Linked DNA regions of Homo sapiens: all the other regions are linked to region 1. The links are contacts of gene promoters, found by promoter capture Hi-C in blood cells and fetal thymus (Javierre and others, 2016). All regions are on one chromosome and are shown on one strand. The core of a region is centred on a gene start or on the middle of the fragment in contact, and the rest is flanking DNA. Distances in the headings are between cores, read along the strand shown. Region 1 holds the start of LIF (LIF interleukin 6 family cytokine). Region 2 holds the start of HORMAD2 (HORMA domain containing 2). Region 3 has its middle 3.8 kb from the start of SEC14L2. Region 4 overlaps HORMAD2 (HORMA domain containing 2).

Region 1 (2,700 bases), core at 85-2,584:
CGGGCGAGGCTGCAAGAGCTCCCTGGCCTTGGAAAACCAACTCACACACCTTGATCTCAGGTCAGGGTCAGGCGGAAGGGCTGGGAAGGGGCCACAGGGGACTAAATCATCTCCTGGTACTGGGGGTCCCCTGGCAGCTTTAGGGACGGCATGGCCCCAGACGCGTGGCCATGCTGTCTGGCCGGCATTCCCGCATCTCATAGGGTGTATTTATTTTCACTTTTCTGTTGCATTTCTTGGAGGTGTCCCTGTGCTCATTTTGCCCGGCTCCCCACTGCTCCTTTCTGCCCTTCCTCATTCACAAATCGCCTGGCCTCAGAAGACGCCAGAACATGTGACACTGCCTTAGAGCCTCTAGAAGCACTTTTTGGGGACCTCCATCATTCTCTGAGGCTGGGCTCAAAGGGGCTTCCAAGGCAGGTCTGGAAGGGACCAGCCACTTCTCAGTTTCCCCAACCATCAATCAGCACCCGGAGGAGGAAACTGGGGTACGATTTCGCCAAGCCTCTCTCAGTCCTGCTTCAGAATGGAAATGCTGGACCGCCTTCCCAGAAGCACCTTCCCAGAGTGTCCCGACAGAACTGAGTCAGTCACCCCTACCCCCATGTCTTCCTAGCCCCTTCCCCAGCCTCACAGGTACAGTGGTCAGCAGGGCGAGTGCACTGGTGGTGTCTGGAGGCCTGACCCTCTGGGGCCCTGGGCAACGTGTTCCCCTCGGAGCCCCTTGGGGCCCAGTGGCAATGTGCAGATTGGAGGAGGCTACCTCTGGGGTGGCTTCCAGCGCCCATGTTCAGTTCCACTTTATGACCGTCTAAAGTCCACGCCGGCCCCGGCCCCTCCTCCTGGAGCCTCCTTCTCAGCCAAGCCCTAGCCCTCCTCCTCCCACTGCCCCCCTAAAGCCCCCCAACCAGGGGGCACAGGGGCCAGTCTCCATCTGCTAGTCCAGACTCGCTACCTCCCCAAACCCAGGTGAGTCAGGGCCGTCTGGGGCGCCCACTGCTGGGACCCCTGCTGACTCGGCCAGGGGCCCCCTCCTGGCGATGCCCATCTTCAGACAACTCCCGGGACAAGCCAGGCAGGAAAACCACAGGGCGTTTTGTCGAAGGCTTCATTATAATTTTATCAATCAAATTCTTAGAAGAGGGAAAAAGTCTGTTCTCCCCACCCTCCCCCCTCACTCGTCCCCCCCCTTCACTCTCACTTTCTTCCATTCATAATTTCCTATGATGCACCTCAAACAACTTCCTGGACTGGGGATCCCGGCTAAATATAGCTGTTTCTGTCTTACAACACAGGCTCCAGTATATAAATCAGGCAAATTCCCCATTTGAGCATGAACCTCTGAAAACTGCCGGCATCTGAGGTTTCCTCCAAGGCCCTCTGAAGTGCAGCCCATAATGAAGGTCTTGGCGGCAGGTAAATACACCCGCCCCGCGCCGGCTTCGCGTCCCCGCTGCGGGGCGCGGCGGCAACTTGGGGCGCTTGGCAGCGCGAGCCGGACGCCCACCCGCCGCAGACACACGAACACTTGGGGCGCCCGCGCAGCCACCGGAGGCGCTGGGTGGCGGCCCGGAGCGAGCGCGGGCACATGGTCCCAAGCACCGCACGCCCCGCGGCAGGTTGGCGGCGAGGGAGGGGGCGCCGAGCCTTCCTCCTCCTCCTCTTCTTCCCCCTCTCCTTCTCCTCCTCCTCCTCCTCGCTCCGGACACTCGCTGGCTGCTCTTCCCTCTGCGCTTTCTCCCAGATTCACTCTCCCTCTCTCTTTTTCTTTTCTTTCTTTCTTTCCGCTTTCTCCTTTCCAACCGCGGTCCCGGGCTGCTCCCAGGGAGGGGCGCGGGCGGCGAGCAGCTTGCAAACTCCGGCCTGGGACGGGAGCAGGTGCCGCCTCCATCTGCTGGTGTCTGGAAGCGTGTGGTCTGCGCTAGGTGAGATATAGGGGTGTGGCCCCCCTCCCGCAGCCACCCCGGGGCCTCAGCACTGCCTTGGGATGCTGGGACGAACAGGGGACCCAGGAGAAGTGAACTTGAGGAGGCCCCTGTCCCCGCTGTTCCAGCATGGGGGATCCGGGGGAGGTCTCCAGCCTCACTCGCCCGCTGACCCCGGCCCCCACCATCTTCAGGTGCCCTTCTGCAGAGCCCTGGAAAAGCGTCTAAGGGGGCCTGGGGGGAGTCGGGAGAACAGGCCCCCCTGGGGGAGGGGCAAACCAGGACATGTCGGGACAGCTCCCAGCTCTCCTGTCACCTTTCACTTTCCTTCCTCCCCGCCCACCCGACTGCCTATGACCTTTTGCCTTTTCTCTCTCCTGGTGCACCATTTCCTCTCCCTCCCTGAGCCGGTGTGTGTGTGTTAGGAGGGAGGGGAACCCCTGGGACAAGGGACAGCGGATGAGTCGGGAGAAGGCATGGAGTCAGGGGCTGTCCGGAGCTGGGGGAACAGAGAGTTTTGAATGATGATTTGGGGATGGAGAGTGGGGACAGCCAGGCAGAAATGGGGTGAGCTTGAGTGAGATAGGGGACACTAGGGAAGGAAGAGATAGAGGATGATGGGGGCGGGGGCAGAATTGGGGGCAATTGGCCCAGGGAGCCAGAATCAAGTGGCAGGTTTGGGAGGGAGATGAGGGTCAACCGAGGACTCCTCCCCACTCCCCCATGCCCCGTGGCCCCCATGGGTGCCTGGCTTCGGAGATTTGGGCTGCAATGG
Region 2 (2,925 bases), core at 143-2,642, 170 kb after region 1:
CCCAGCACTCTGGGAGGCCGAGGTGGGAGGATCACGAGGTCAAGAGATCGAGACTATCCTGGCCAACATGGTGAAACCCTGTCTCTACTAAAAATAAAAAAAAATAAAAAAATTTAGCTGGGCGTGGTGGTGCACACCTGTAGTCCCAGCTACATGGGAGGCTGAGGCAGGGGAATCGCTTGAACCCGAGAGGTGGAGGTTGCAGTGAGCTGAGATTGCGTCACTGCACTCCAGCCTGGCACAGAGCTCGACTCCATCTCACAAAAAAAAAAGAAAAAAGAAAAGGAAAGTGAGGCTAAGCAAGGGAACTTGGTTTGCCAAAGTTCGCCCAATTACTTAGACCTTCCAACAGAGCTTGCTTCAATAAATTATTCACCATTTTAACAAATTCCATTTGGCCCTGGTAATTCCCCTACCTGTGCTCATTCAGAGAAAATGGCTTCCACTATATTAATTGAGTATTTGTTCATGCTCTTTTGACTTTTTAATATCTTTTTCATGCTATTTCAATTATTCATTCATTCAACATCTACGAGGCAACTACAATGTGCCAGGCAACAACATGCAGGATTACGAGATGTAAAATACTGTTCCTACCTCAACAGATTGATGGTCCAATGGAGGAGAAATTAGATTATGATCCTGCTGAGATTAAAAACCCCTTTAGGGGCCAGAACCACCCCTCATTTCTACCAGCTGAGTACACGATGTACTGCACAGCCTGTCCAGTGCCCTGCGTACTCGGACACATTTTGGCGATTGGCTAATCCTGAGGTTCAAGACTCTCTCCCTCTGTTTAGGGAACTAAAGTCCATAGGGATTAATTGGCAAATCCTCACTAAAGTGAAAGGGGAGCTGAGGTCAAGGGGGGCGGGGTGTCTTGTCCCCACCTCTCTCACCTCTTGGCCTGTACCAGGCATCGATCCTGGCAGAAAACCTCAATGGCTGGGGAGAATCTGACCCAGGTAAGATAAACTTCCCCAAAGCTCCACCACACACGGCCCCCTCCAATGTCGGGCACAGACATCGTCTGCCCTGCCAGCCTCATCATGGCTCATTATGGCTGCTGCTTGCTCAGCAAGTTTGATTTCATGTCCAGAAAAATCTGAATTTCAAAACTACCTGGGTGCTCTCTGTCCAGTTCTGGGGGAAATCGCCTCCCTTTTGCCTTCCTCCTCAGCCCCCTGCCCTCCCGATTCTCTTCACAGTACTTTAGGCCCTCACGAAATATGATACTTTCAAATCCAACTTAAAGCCTTAAGTAATAAGAAAAGAAAAAAAAATTGTTTTTTGACATAAAGACAGAACTAACAACGCCCGAGTGCCCTCTCTGGGCCGAGACCTCGCGTCTCAACAGCCCTCACCTCAGCTCGTCGACGCTTCCCTCCCACCGGGGGTCAACGGCCTTTTCCGGCCCAAACCCGCTCCTCGGCTCATGAATAGTCAACGAGGCCTTTCTGGGCGGGACCAGAGGTTTCCTCATGAATAATTCATGACCCGTCCACGGCTAGCCTGGGCGACCGGCCTCGCTAGACTTCATGAATATGCAAAGCAGGGGCGAACGGCGGCTAGCCGGCCCCTAGCCCGCCCGGCCCCTCAGCAGCCGCCTCTCAGCCACGGGCTGCACACTGACCCGACGCGACCTTCGGTCAGGGGCCGCCAGCCTGGGCCACCTATACAACGACAGCCTGCTCCGGGGCTTCCTGAGGAGGTGCCTGCCCCGCCGAGGTTAGGACCCGAGGGACCGTGGGGCTCGGGCGGGCCAGGACGCCAGGCCGGCGGGTCCCAGAGAGGTCTGAGGCGGGCGCGGGGCGGCGTAGGGGAGGGAAGCGAGAGCCTGGGGGGCCCAGGGACCCGAGTTAGAAGAAGGCCCGAGAAGTGCGGCGCGGTGGCTCCACCTGGGATCCCAGCACTCTGGGAGGCTGAGGCGGGCGCGTCACTTGAGGTCAGGAATTCGAGACCAGCCTGGCCAACATGTTGAAAACCCGTCTCTACAAAAAATACAAAAATTAGCTGGGCGTGGTGGCGCGCGCCTGTAGTCCCAGCTACTTGGGAAGCTGAGGCACGAGAATCGCTTGAGCCCAGGAGGCTGAGGTTGCAGTGAGCCGAGATTCCGCCATTGCACTCCAGCCTGGGCGACAGAGCGAGACTCCGTCTCAAAAAAATTTTAAAAAGTACAAAAATTAGCTGGGCCACCTGACGTGCGCCTGTAGTCCCAGCTGCTCGGGAGGCTGAGGTAGGAGGATCGCTTGAGCCGGGGAGTTTGAGGTTGCAGTGAGCCAAGATCGTACCATTGCACTCCAGCCTGGGCAACAGAGGGAGACCCTGTCTCAAAAATAAAAAAAAAGAAAAGAAAGAAAAAAGACATAAGGCCAGAAGGCCAGAGCTTTCCAATACTTGAGGGCATCTGCAACCTCTTCATCCCTACCCTGGACCTGACTTTGCATTCTTTTTAACATTAATTTGTAATTATGCAAATAAAACATAAATATATTCTCCTTTGTGCCCTACCCCTAATCTCAGTTTTTTCTGCCCTGGTAACTGTGGGAGCAGTTGGGGGTGTGGCTCCTTGGATCGTTTCTCACCTGTTTAGGTAGATATTTCGTATCCTGTGGTGCTTTCCAAAGGCTCCTGGAGTCCCATGAACCTCCCCAAGGGGATTTCCCAAGAGAGTAGATGAAAGAGTGAGCCACTTGAAACCTGTTCTTATTTTGTTTCTGCAGGAAAGAAAAAAAAAACTATTCAAGTTGGCGAGAACATGAGTTTAGAACATAATGACTAAAACTGAAATTTGGGCTGAAATATTCTTTTAGTGCAAGTTTTCTCAACCTTCTCCCCACCCCCACCATCATAACAACCAAAAATTTCTCTAGACTTTGCCAAATGTCCCATGGGGTGTGCAAAATTGCCCTCTGTTGAGAACTA
Region 3 (2,936 bases), core at 209-2,708, 150 kb before region 1:
ACCCAGGAGGTGGAGGCTGCAGTGACCCAAGATGGCACCATTGCATTCCAGCCTGGGCGACAAAGCAAGGCTCTGTCTCAAAAAAAAAAAAAAAAAAAAAAAAAACCTAGCCAGGCACAGTGGCTCACGCCTGTAATCCCAGCACTTTGGGAGGCTGAGGCGGGTGGATTACCTGAGTTCAGGAGTTTGAGACCAGCCTGGCCAACATGGTGAAACTAAAAATACAAAAATTAGCCGGGCATGGTGGCGGGCGCCTGTAAACCCAGCTACTTGGGAGGGTGAGGCAGGAGAATCGCTTGAACCCAGGAGGCAGAGGTTGCAGTGAGCCGAGATCACGTCACTGCAGTCCAGCCTGGGCAACAGGAGAGAAACTCGGTCTAAAAAAAAAAAAAAAAAAAAACAAGCAAACAAACAAAAACACATAAATAAATAATCTGGTGAAGTCCTGGAGCTGGCTAACAAGAGAGAGTCCCTCCTTCCCATCCCCACTTTTTCTCCATCCCCTAATCCCTGCCCTACAGTTCTTCCTCCCTGCTAGGTATGTTGCACCCCTGCTCAAGAATCTTCAATGGCTCCCCGGTTCCTTCCTGAGTTGACTCAATCCCACTGATCTGCATTTGAGGCCTACCCCCACCCCAGCCCAGCATTCCTTGTGGCACCAACGGCCACTTGCCCTCTCCACACACTTCATTTCAATCTGAGAAGCTTCCCACTGTCCCTTAGACACACCTCTGCCCTCCTGCCTCTGTGAGAGCTGCTGCTGTGTCCTGTATCCTCCTGCCAGGTCTTCCCCAGCCCTCAAGACTCTGATCAAATACTGTTTCCAGGAGCTTCTCCCTGAGCTACCCAATGCAACACGACCTCTGCCAACCAGAAGTCCCCTTTCCTGGCCTTGATGTGGACTATTTTGCATTGTAGTGGCAACTCTCAGGGAATAGCATGGCCCAACAGGAAGAACCAGGCCTCCTGGGTCAGGCAGGCTGGAGGGGAGAACCTTCTGTGATGGGTGTGTTGCTCTGGGTATATCTTGCTGGGGACTTTGCTTAGGGGAACATAGAGTGTGAACAACTTAAAGAAGGCTGGTGGCACGCAGAGATCTAGAAGCGTTGGGATGGCAGTCCTAGCGTTGACAGAGCCCTGTGCTTCAGATTCTTCTGGGGGGCAGCTCTGGGCACAGGAAGGAGCACTGGACCGGGAGTCTGGTGTGTGGGCTGGAGACCATGTTCTTGCTTAATGTGCTGCCGTGACTATTCCACAAGACGCATATTTGGGGGTCTCCTCAGGGCTGCTGGCCGTGCCCTCTAGACCTTGGTTGTTTCCTCACTAAAATGAGGGCACTGGCCTTGAGATCAGAGGCCTCCTGCGTGCCCTGGCCTCAGAATCTGTGGTGCCAGGGGGAAGGGGGTGGCACAGAGATTGGCATTGTGATTTGAGAGTTGGAAAGAACAGTCTTTTAAACTCTTCACAAATATTTGTGGAACACTCTACTTCCACGGGGCCAGGGCAGCGCGAACTCTCTGGAAAACCCTTGTGCCTGCGGGCAGCCATGCAGAAAAGCCCTGGCCCCAACCTCCTCCCCTCCTCCCAGCCCAGCCCTGTGGGGCTTGCAGCTGCCTCAAGTCACCTGCCTCCTCTGGGTGTCTGTGATCTGGGGAGAGAACTAATCCCGCCACTGTGAGAATTCCAAGTGAAATAATGGCTGGGGAAGTGGTGGGCGCACACAGGTGAGGGATTATTATTCTATCATGTTGCTTCTGAAGGCACAACAGAGAGTGAGAAACTAAGCCTGTCTGGCTCCTCCCCCGAGCCCCACTTCCTCCTCACTTCTGCAGTCCAGCCTGGCTTTGCAAAGAAACAAAATCCTCTCCCCACCCCACTTCCCACACTCGAACCCCTGATTAAGTCCCTTACCTTCCTGGGTATCACTGTCTAATCCCTAAGCCCTTTCTCACCAGTCTCCAGTTGTCTCCAAGAGCCAAATCCCTTTAGAATGAGGTGGCCCAGATAGCTGTGAGCACAGAGGCTGGGGGCAGGGAGCTGGGACCTCAGGAGTCCCCCAGAGGGGAGGGGAGGGCCGGAGGGGTGCTGGGGCCCCTGCTATGGCTCTGGCACTAGCTGGCAGGAGCCTGGGGACTTCGCTTGGGAAGGATGGGTTGCCATTTCCACCCCAAATAGAGCTAAAATAGAGTCCAGATTCGGTAGGCAAGCTTGTTCCCACACCAGTGACCTCTCAGAGCAGAATGGCATAGGAGTGGGCCCACCAACTCTGGAACCAGACTACCTAGGTTTGGGTCCGGGTTCTATAACCTAGCAAAGTTACTTGACCTCTGCCTCAATTTCTCATCTGTAAAATGGCAGTGATAATCTTACTACCTCATGTGATTGGAATGAGATTAAATGAGCGAATTCATGAAAAAAACGTTGAAGAGTACCTGGAACACTGTAAAGCTATTGGCTGTTTTTTTAAATTTTTTGTGGGTTTCTTTTTGTAGAGATGGGGGTCTCACTATGTTGCCCAGGCTGGTCTTGAACTCTTGGCCTCAACTGATCCTCCCACTGTGGCCTCCCAAACTGCTGGGATTGCAGGCATGACCCACTGTACCCAGCTGGTATCAGCTGTTTTCACTTGCATTCTCTGTTTCTTCTCTTGAATATTCTTGCCATTCAGGTGCCAGCCCACACACCACCTCTTAGAGAGGTCTCCCTTCCCTGGTAATGAGGTTGAAGTGGCCTCTGGCCCCCAGCCCCTCTCTGAGGCTATTTTATCTCATTCCTGTGGCACCTACCGTGGCCTGAAATGATCTTGCTTGTGTATGTGGTTATGGTTTTCTCTCTGTTCTCAAGGGCAGAAGCCATTGCTGGTCACGGTCACTGCTCCATGCCCAGTGCCTAGCACCGAGAAGTCCTTTGATATCCATTTGTGGGCATGACGCTCA
Region 4 (2,886 bases), core at 256-2,755, 150 kb after region 1:
GGGCATAGTGGCACATGCCTATACTCCCAACTACTCAGGAAGCTGAGGCAGGAGGATCACTTGAGGCTGGAAGGTCGAAGCTGTAATCCTGTAATGATCATGCCGCCACACTCCAGCCCGGACAATGAAATGAGACTCCCTCTCAAAATAAATAAATAGAGTTTTGGTTTAAAGTAGTCCAAGATCAATCACTGATTTATGTGTGATTTTGCATAAGCAACTTCACCTTTTCGTATTGTTTTCCTATACTAAAATTGATGTTACCTGTATCTCTATTGAGGGATATGAAAATTATCCCATGTTGATATAACATTCAGAAATTACAAGAGAGTGACACAGGAGTATTAAGCATTTTTATGATGTATATTACTTTAAGAACAAACATTGAAAGGGAGACATAAAACTTCCACAATAACTGTCACAAAAAATAAAGCTATAGGGAATGGTATCATTGCCGTTGCCTAGGGTAGTGACTGGCACACAATATGTGCTTATTATCAAAAATATGTCTTTCTCAATTCTATGTTCTAGACAAGAGGGAAAATTACAAATATATGTTAGATATAAACACATTCACTATTACAAGTTTGTATCTCATAGACCAAAAGATGTCATAATACAAATGAGGTTGTCATGATTGCAAATATCATGTTTATGTGCTTATAGCACACATGCATTTTATTGATGCTCTTACATTACTTAAGATAATTTTTTTTTTTGAGACAGAGTCTCACTGTATCACTCAAGCTGGAATTCAGTGGTGCAATCACAGCTCACTGTAGCCTTAACCCCCCAGGCTCAGATGATCCTCCCACCTCAGCCTCCAGAGTAGCTGGAATTACAGGCACTCACCACCATGGCCAGCTAATTTTTTGTATTTTTTATAGAGACAGGGTTTCACCGTGTTGTTCAGGCTGGTCTTGGATTCCTAGGCTCAAGCAGTCTGCCCACCTTGCCTTTCAAAGTGTTATGGTTACACTTTGGATTACAAGCCTGAGCCACCATGCCCAACCAAGAGAATTAGACTGAAATGAGGCCAAGGTATATCATTAAATACAGATGTAAGAAATTTAAAATTAGATTTTGAAAAATAACATCTTACAAGGCAACTTGTAGCTCTCTATGTTTATTTTCCAAATGACAGTTCCTATTTTAGTGACAAGTCAACAAGATTCACAATCCAGCTTTTTTTTTTTTTAATACTTTAAGTTCTGGAATACATGTGCAGAAAGTGCAGGTTTGTTCATGTGCCATGGTGGTTTGTTGCAACCATCAACCCATCATCTAGGTTTTAAGCCCCACATGCATTAGGTATTTGTCCTAATGCTATTCCTTCCCTTGCCCCCCACCCCCCTACAGGCTCCAGTGTGTGATGTTCCCCTTCCTGTTTCCATGTGTTCTCATTGTTCAACTCCCACTTATGAGTGAGAACATACATAACACAGGTTTTCTGTTCCTGTGTTAGTTTGCTGAGAATGATGGTTTCCAGCATCATCCATGTTCCTACAAAGGACATGAACTAATTATTTTTCATGGGTACATAGTTTTCTATGATGTATATGTGCCACATTTTCTTTATCCAGTCTATCATTGATGGGCATTTGGGTTGGTTCCAAGTCTTTGCTATTGTAAATAGTGCTGCAATAAACATATGTGTGCATGTGTCTTTATAATAGAATGATTTATAATACTTTGGATATATACCCAGTAATGGGATTACTTGGTCAAATGGTATTTCTGGTTCTATATCCTTGAGGAATTGCCACACTGTCTTCCACAATGGTTGAACTAATTTACACTCCCACCAACAGTGTAAAAGCATTCCTATTTCTCTACATTCTCTCCAGCATCTGTTGTTTCCTGACTTTTTAGTGATTTCCGTTCTAACTGGCATGAGATGGTATCTCATTGTGGTTTTGATTTGCATCTCTCTAACGACCAGTGATGATGAGCTTTTTTTCATATGTTTGTTGGCTGCATAAATGTCTTCTTTTGAGAAGTGTCTGTTCATATCCTTTGCCCACTTTTTGATGGGGTTGTTTTATTCTTGTAAATTTGTTTTAAGTTCCTTGTAGATTCTGGATATTAAACCTTTGTCAGATGGATAGATTGGAAACATTTTCTCCCATTCTGTATGTTTCCTGTTCACTCTGATGACAATTTCTTTTGCTGTGCAGAAGCTCTTTGGTTTAATTAGTTCCCATTTGTCTATTTTGGCTTTTGTTGCAATTGCTTTTGGTGCTTTAGTCATGAAGTCTTTGCCCATGCCTATGGCCTGAATGGTACTGCCTAGGTTTTCTTCTAGGGTTTTTATGGTTTTAGGTATTACATTTAAGTCTTTAATCCATCTTGAATTAATTTTTGTATAAGGTGTAAGGAAGGGGTCCAGTTTCGGTTTTCTGCGTATGGCTAGCCAGTTTTCCCAGCACCATTTATTAAATAGGGAATCCTTTACTCAATGCTTGTTTTTGTCAGGTTTGTCAAAGATCAGATGGTTGTAGATGTGTGGTGTTATTTCTGAGGCCTCTGTTCTGTTCCATTGGTCTATATATCTATTTTGGTAGCAGTACCATGCTGTTTTGGTTACTGTAGCCTTGTAGCATAATTTGAAGTCAGGTAGCATGATGCCTCCAGCTTTGTTCTTTTTGCTTAGGATTTTCTTGGCTATATGGGCTCCTTTTTGGTTCCATATGAAATTTAAAGTAGTTTCTTCTAATTCTGTGAAGAAAGTCAATGGTAGCTTGATGGGAATAACATTGAATCTATAATTTACTTTGGGCAGTATGGCCATTTTCATGATACACAATCCAGCTTTTTAAACAAATAAGATTTTTGAAAACTTGTTGAGTCCTAGGTACTTGGGTTTTTTGTTTTTGTTTTTGTTTT

Evidence for each region. The method cuts DNA at HindIII sites, captures the fragments that hold promoters and counts their contacts. A CHiCAGO score of 5 or more calls a contact.
Region 2: a contact is called between the fragment with the promoter of HORMAD2 here and the fragment with the promoter of LIF in region 1, in 9 of 17 cell types (neutrophils, erythroblasts, monocytes and 6 more). The highest score is 10.8, in neutrophils.
Region 3: a fragment that was not itself captured here is called in contact with the fragment with the promoter of LIF in region 1 in 4 of 17 cell types (neutrophils, activated CD4 T cells, naive B cells and 1 more); the score reaches 7.3 in neutrophils.
Region 4: a contact is called between a fragment that was not itself captured here and the fragment with the promoter of LIF in region 1, in 16 of 17 cell types (M2 macrophages, neutrophils, monocytes and 13 more). The highest score is 21.4, in M2 macrophages.

Annotation. Positions count from the first base shown.
Region 1 is chr22:30,245,393-30,248,092 of GRCh38, reverse strand. LIF (LIF interleukin 6 family cytokine) reads left to right here and starts at 1,334. Exons shown (of 3, transcript NM_002309.5): 1 at 1,334-1,416. The coding sequence starts at 1,398. It overlaps LIF-AS2 (LIF antisense RNA 2), which reads right to left and starts at 1,883. Exons shown (of 1, transcript NR_148946.1): 1 at 1,100-1,883. The HindIII fragment of the contact is 10,846 bases long and covers 1-2,700 here.
Region 2 is chr22:30,078,931-30,081,855 of GRCh38, reverse strand. HORMAD2 (HORMA domain containing 2) reads right to left here and starts at 1,392. Exons shown (of 11, transcript NM_152510.4): 1 at 1,365-1,392. HORMAD2-AS1 (HORMAD2 and MTMR3 antisense RNA 1) reads left to right here and starts at 1,599. Exons shown (of 5, transcript NR_110541.2): 1 at 1,599-1,728. RefSeq lists enhancers at 1,322-1,401, 1,239-1,936 and a silencer at 1,742-1,791. The HindIII fragment of the contact is 6,725 bases long and covers 1-2,925 here.
Region 3 is chr22:30,391,711-30,394,646 of GRCh38, reverse strand. No RefSeq gene overlaps it. Among named protein-coding and RNA genes, the nearest start is that of SEC14L2, 3.8 kb to the left of the region's middle. The HindIII fragment of the contact is 1,502 bases long and covers 708-2,209 here.
Region 4 is chr22:30,099,901-30,102,786 of GRCh38, reverse strand. The region is part of intron 3 of HORMAD2 (HORMA domain containing 2); the gene reads right to left. Among named protein-coding and RNA genes, the nearest start is that of HORMAD2, 21 kb to the right of the region's middle. The HindIII fragment of the contact is 7,543 bases long and covers 1-2,886 here.